Regions from separate parts of the Homo sapiens genome. Here region 2 is linked to region 1. Evidence: promoter capture Hi-C in 16 types of primary human blood cells and fetal thymus (Javierre and others, 2016). All regions are on one chromosome and are shown on one strand. The core of a region is centred on a gene start or on the middle of the fragment in contact, and the rest is flanking DNA. Distances in the headings are between cores, read along the strand shown.

The links. The method cuts DNA at HindIII sites, captures the fragments that hold promoters and counts their contacts. A CHiCAGO score of 5 or more calls a contact.
Region 2: the fragment with the promoter of LINC01548 here is called in contact with the fragment with the promoter of IL10RB in region 1 in 11 of 17 cell types (neutrophils, non-activated CD4 T cells, total CD8 T cells and 8 more); the score reaches 13.7 in neutrophils.

Annotation. Positions count from the first base shown.
Region 1 is chr21:33,264,787-33,268,010 of GRCh38, reverse strand. It overlaps IL10RB (interleukin 10 receptor subunit beta), which reads right to left and starts at 1,644. Exons shown (of 7, transcript NM_000628.5): 1 at 1,497-1,644. The coding sequence starts at 1,545. All of the region lies in intron 7 of IFNAR2-IL10RB (IFNAR2-IL10RB readthrough), which reads right to left. It overlaps IFNAR2 (interferon alpha and beta receptor subunit 2), which reads right to left. Exons shown (of 9, transcript NM_001289125.3): 9 at 2,347-3,224. IL10RB-DT (IL10RB divergent transcript) reads left to right here and starts at 1,751. Exons shown (of 2, transcript NR_038974.1): 1 at 1,751-1,948; 2 at 2,109-2,379. RefSeq lists a silencer at 1,389-1,798 and enhancers at 1,969-2,038, 2,069-2,128. The HindIII fragment of the contact is 8,663 bases long and covers 1-1,787 here.
Region 2 is chr21:33,168,566-33,171,789 of GRCh38, reverse strand. It overlaps LINC01548 (long intergenic non-protein coding RNA 1548), which reads left to right and starts at 1,554. Exons shown (of 4, transcript NR_024102.1): 1 at 1,554-1,649; 2 at 1,957-2,094; 3 at 3,209-3,224. RefSeq lists an enhancer at 2,273-2,342. The HindIII fragment of the contact is 7,514 bases long and covers 1-3,224 here.

The DNA.
Region 1 (3,224 bases), core at 395-2,894:
GTGCCCCGATTGGAGCTCAGCTGGGGAACTCACGAGTCCCATTTGAGCTGCATTAGGTTGGAGATGCTGGAGAGAGGCTGAAGTAGGAATGTCAGGGAGACAGCCAGATGAATGAGCCCAGAGGTCACACCAAGAAGAGATGTGGGCTAGAGACAGAAATTATTTTCAAACCTTTTAATAGAAAATTCGAAACCTGGCCAGGCATGGTGGCTCGCGCCTGTAATCCCAGCTCTTTGGGAGGCTGAGGAAGGTGAATCACCTGAGGTCAGGAGTTCGAGACCAGCCTGGCCAACATGGCGAAACCCCATCTCCAATAAAAATACAAAAATTAGCCAGGCGTAGTGGCACACACCTGTAATTCCAGCTACTCGGGAGGCTGAGGGAGGAAAATCGCTTGAACCCGGGAGGCGGAGGTGGCAGTGAGGCAAGATCAAGCCACTGCACTCCAGCCTGGGCCACAGCAACAGAGCAAAACCCTGTCTCAAAAAAAAACAAAAAAACAAAAAAACAAACAAACAAAAAAAAAAACGGAAGAAGAAAGAAAGAAAAGAAAATTTGAAACCTACATGCAAGTAGAAAAGTAGAAGACTATAATAAACCACCACCCATCACCCAACTGGTACCAAGAGAGATATAAATGTGCGAGTCATGGGCCTATAGCCCGTGTTTAATGCCAGGGTTTGGCTGAAATCCCCCAAAGGAACAGTGCCAGGGAAGGAGAGAAAAGGCCTTGGGCATCACAATTAGCTACATAGAAACCTGACAGAGCAGGAGGGTCCCAAGCAGAGACAGCCTGACAGGGCGGGAAACCGGAGGGGTATCCCGGAAGGCCAGGGAAGAGTTCATGAGAAAGGAAGGAGGTGACCATGGTGTTATTGGAACCTAGGCAGTCAATTTAGAGGACAGAAAAGGTTTCAATGGATTTAGGTTTAGAAGCCATGGAGCTGGGGCGCTGGGGGACAGAATCCAGATTTCAGGGTGCTCGGGCCTGAACCGGAAGGAGGGGAGGTGCAGCGGGTGATGGGAGGCACATCTGTAGGGAGGGCTGGCACTGAGGGGGCAGACTTGGGGTCAGGGAGGGCTGTCAGGGCACTCGGGGACTGGTGGGGGCCTCCACTTGAACTGATAGTCTCCAGAAGGGTCAGATGACAGCCACGGTGGGATCTTGGGTCTTTTGGGGAAGCTACTTTATTTAGACGCCCGCCAGCAGAGAGCTGCAGGAGGACAGGGAATCAAAAGACGCCGGGAGTCTCCCCCTGAGTTTAGGGCCCAGACGGTCTGTAATCCGGGCGCGGATGGGGCTTTCTCCTGTTACAGAATCGACGGCAGCAGCAGCCTAGTTGCGTCTCAGCAGCCGGCCGTGGCGTTTGCATCTTCTCTCCCGAGGCCCCGAAGGCTCTTAAGTCACTTGCAGGGCGCCCAGGGATGGGATCAGGGGCGGCATCTCGCGGGGCCTCCCGGTTCCCAAGCGCGCCCCCTCCCCGCGGACCCCTCACCTGACACCAGCAGGCAGCCACCCAGCCAGCTCCCAAGGCTCCACGCCATGGACGGACGCTGGGGGTTCCGCGGCTTCCTCCAAGCACACGACCCCCGCCCGCGCCCGGGAGAGCTTGTCCGCGGCGGCTTCCGGGAACCAGCGGAGATGGGCGGGGCGGGGTGGGGAGGGGCCGGGCGACCGGGCTCCCACCCCGCTGCAGGCCCCGCCCACCAGCCCGGGTCCACCCGCGAGGCGCGGGGCACAGGCTTGGCAGATGCACACGAGGAAGAGGAAGGGATCCTCGCAAGCTTTGAAAGGCGCCGTCAAGTCAAATAAATAAATGCCCTACAACACCAACCCAGGACTGAGATCTGCATGCTGGAATGACGGTGGTGGTGGTGGCTTTCAGTATTCCCCAGGTTTTGTCCGGAGCACCGGCACGCCCTCTCTTGAAGTCCGCTCTCCGCACAGGTGAGTTAAAAGCACTTCAGCAGCAAATCCAGTTTGAGGGTCTTCTTTACCCTTCTCCCCAGGGATAAACAACACAAAACCAAGTCATCTTTACGCAAATAACTAGTTTCTTTCAGAGACTACTAAGAAAGCGTTAATTTCCTCTTTTTAACTTGATTAGTGGTTAGACGGGAAGATCCGGAGCTGTCCAGTGTCTTGGGTAATGCACGGCATCGCCTGATGTCTGACGCTAGAACACCACGTAAAGTCAAGCAGAGGGAAGTGAATGCGCCCTAGGCCCCTGCAGGCCACCAAGAAGAGCTAGAGGGAGTTGGTGCAATCCTAGAGATGCCGGCAGGTGCACCAATCTGTGGCACACGTACGCTCTCCAATGGAAGACAACTCAAGACCACACCAAGTTTGTATTAAAAAAGTACTGTTGTGTTACTTTTTACCAACCTCCAATCATTATACAAAATGTTAAAAAATACACAAACACACACACACACTCACAGCCATAGAGGTTATCGCAAAAGATCAACCCAGAATCTTTCAGAATATGACAGATGCACTGAGAAGGCAGATAAATTGATTCAATATACAAAAGGCCTCTTTCCTATGGAATTTCATTAGATTAAATAAGGTGTTCCCTCCTCACAGCCTCATCCTTATGAGCAATCATATAAATAATCTATTTAAAGTCCTTGAACTATAACTTGTATAATTTTTAGTTTTCCCCCTTTGAAGGGGCCTAAGAGAAAGGTTTGAGAAACCAGCTCTTGAGGGGGGCAGGGGTGAGGGGTAAGAGGTCCTGTGCCTTTCATTCATCCTGGGAGCTTCTCAGGATTGCAGCATTTCCACCTGAGTGTTCATTCTTGTACATTTTCTCATCTTTCTCCTGGGTTCCTAGGATCTTGGAGATTACCTAGTCCAATCCTTTTACTTCAGAAACAAAAAACCTGAGGCTCAGAAAGGCTAAGTCAAATGCCTAGGGTCACACAGGGAAACTGTGGGAGTTGGATCCCTGAGTCCCAGTCCTTAAACTGGTTGCTACATGACATTCTAGAACCTCTCCCCACCAACTCCCTTTTTAAAGACAGGGTCTGGTTCTGTCACCCAGGCTGAAGTGCAGTGACATGATCTTGGCTCACTGCAACCTCCGCTTCCTGGGCTCAAGCCATTCTCCCACCTCAGCCTCCCAAGTAGCTGGGACAACAGGCACATGCCACTACGCCCAGTTAATTTTTCTAATTTTGTTTTGTAGAGACAGATTTGCCATGTTGCCCAGGCTGGTCTC
Region 2 (3,224 bases), core at 305-2,804, 96 kb after region 1:
CTGTTCCCGGGATCACCCCTCTCCCTCTGCCTGTGTGCAGCCTTGTGTGCTCAACCCTGCACCCCAGGGGCCCTCAGACTACTATCATGAGGCCCAGGCCTTGAGCTGCAGAGCTGGTTAATTAGCGCTGGAGCCCAGGAAGCCCCATCTGTTCCCAGCACTTGTGTTGCTCTGATCTCTCCATTTCCCTGACTCCCAGGCCAGGGAGAGTTCTTGTCCTCCTACCCTGCAATCCCTGGAGATGCGCTCCCCCCAACCGCAGCCCAAAGTGCCTTTTCATGGGGCTGTAAGGCAGCTGTCACGAGGTAAATCCCACTCTTTACCCCGCCAGCAGGACAGGTAGGGACAGGTGGGAGGAATACGGGAGGAAACAGCTCCCACTGGTGACTGCCGGACCCTCTCCTCGCTGGCCGCAGACCCTGGAGCCACTTCCCTACCGTATCCAGAGCAGGCCCAGCCCCCGACAAAGGGACCTTTATATGGTGGTCCTGGAATTTTAGTTGGGTTCCCGTAAATGCAGACCCTGACAAGGTCTTGGGCACAGGAGGTTTATCTGAGGGGACTCCAGGAAGCAGGAGTCAGGGAGAAGGAAGCAGGAAACAGAAGTAGACGTCATTACTGAGATTGCTGCTGGAGGCAACAGGGGTCTTGAAGGTAAGAAACATGTCCTTACGGGAGAAGCTGCCTTGGTGGGTTTGGAAAGTGTGAAGAGTTCGCAGGCGTGCTCATCATCAACTAAGTGGACAGGTGAAAGCTGGAGGGGCTCTGCAGAAGCCCTGAGTTGCACTAAAATCTGTACTAATCCAAATAGTGGGTCTAGATTCCCTCTCCTACTCAAAATGACTTTAACTCCTCCAATTTAGCAAATATTGGTTGAACATCTCCTACTGTATTTAATGGAATGTAAGAGATCATTGACTATAAGGCACGCCATTATTTTAAGAGGCTCTAAGAAAAGAGCTTCCAACTCAGCTATGACACTCTATGAAAAGTAAGACTTTCCTAGGTCAGAAGCACAGAAGTGTAAAAAGAATGTTGGTCTCGGGATGGGTACCATGTGCACTGTAGCTTAATGGGCATAGTGGGGCATTGTGACATAGAAACTGCCCTTGCTCCCAGCAGAGGAGAAAAAGCGTGTAAAGCAATGTCAGTGATAACAAGCAAAAATAGGACAGGGGAGAAAGCCAAGAGTCTTCAGACCACAAGAGAAGGAGAGATTAATTCTGGTAGGGAGGTATCAAGGAGGCCTTCCTGGATGAGGGGGTGGCATCTGAGCTGGGCTCAGGAAAAGGTGGGGCTTGAACTATTGGGGATGAAGGGAAAGGCATTCCCGGCAAGTGGGAACAGCACAGGCAAAGGCTCTGAGAGGTCCTAGAAATAAAGTTATTGCACTTCAAGGGGGTTGTAAGATTTATGGGTGAGGATAAGGAAAAAGTAGAGAATTAGAAAAGCAGTGAACTTACCCCTTTACCCAGAAATCCCCCTCCTAAGTGCATGGCCAAGAGAAATTTGCCCTCAAGTGCACCTTTTCCCTTTAGGAAAATCCACCTGGATGGACAGCAGCAGAGGGAGGAGGAGGCAGGACAGACCAGAAGAGAGACAATGAGGTTCTGAACCTAGATGTTGGCCAAGGGAGCAGAGGAGGGCAGGTGAATGGCGCTATAGGGGATACTGTAGCAGGAGGGTTGACTGGACTCAGCAACTGGGGAGGGAGTAGGCAAAAAGAGAGCCTGGGAACTTAGGACAAGAAGCAGGGTATTTTTTTTTTTTCAAGGGAGAGGTAAGCAACAATGATTTACTTGTTCTTACACATGGAACTCTCCAGGGCACTACACCTGCATTTAAATCACTTGGCTCCTGGCACATGGCTCTCCTCCCATTTCTCTTTCTGTCCACTCCCTCTTCATTTGTCCTCTGCCCTCTTCGTATGACTGTTCCTTGGGGCCCTGTCTCCAGGTCAGGAGGCCCTCGCCCTGCAATCACCCTTCCTGGGAGCCTTCACTTCACCTGTGATCTCAAGACCTCTCCCTACTGCCTGACTCGCGCCGAGCTTATGGAACATCTTCCCTTGAGGGTCGCAGTCCATTCGATGAGGTATTTTCCCCATGAAATCCCTTATCTTTGGGAACCTCTTCTTTTCCTTGTGCGTCCTATGTGGGTGGATGGAGAACCACTCTCCACGTGGTTACTCGGTCCAGAAGGGCGGCTGTCTGTACAAATGCGCCTCTTCCTTTCACTTCCTCTATCCAACCAGCTTCTTCTGCCCACCTCCCTTTCATGCTCCTTTCACGCTCCTTTCACATGCTCTTGGCTCACCGTTTTTTTCTTTAAGTTTTTAGAGACAGGGTCTCGCTCTATCACTCAGGCTAGGGTGTGCTGGCACGACCATGGCTCACTGCAGCCTTGACCTCCTGGGCTCAAGCTATCCTCCTGCCTCAGCCTCCTGAGTAGCTGGGACCACAGGCACGCACCACCATGCCTGGCTAATTTTTTATGTTTTGTAGAGACAGGGGTCTCTTTCTTGCCCAAGCTGGTCTTGAACTCCTGGCCTCAAACAATCCTCCTGCCTTGGCTTCCCAAATTGCTGGGATTGCAGGAGTTTGCCACTGCGCCTGACCTGGCTCGCCTTTTTTGCTCCTGGGCGTTGCTCTGACAACCGCAACAAGCTGTCACCTGACAGCTGTGGCAGTGGGTATCTGCTGTGGCAGGCTTTCTGTCCAAGCCTGCGGGGACTTGCTTAGCTATACTGGCTTGTGTGTAAACTTGGAAGCTCAAGGGAGGTGGCTTTCCTTGGGGGAAAACTTTGACCAATAGGGGCAGGAGCTGATGAGCTCATCTGTCTTCCATCCATGTCTTGGGTGGACAATTCTGAGGCATCTTTCACACGCTTCCTCAGGGGGTCTCCAGGGGATCCAGTCCCAGCAGCCCATGGAGGTAACCAGGCCAATAACACCACACTGGGATGCTTCTTTCTCCTCCCACTATTTTTAAAATTTTTAATTTTTAAAACTTTTTGTTGAGATGCGGTCTCCCTGTGTTGCCCAGGCTGGTCTTGGCCTCCTGGCCTCAGGCGATTCTCCTGCCTTAGCCTCTCAAAGTGCTGGGATTACAGGTGTGAGCCACCACACCAAGCCCACCTCCCTCTTTCACTCCTCCCAGCCCCCATTGCTGTTACTTGGCATCAATTCCTAAACAGCCTGCACATCAGCCCTTGTCACAGGTCC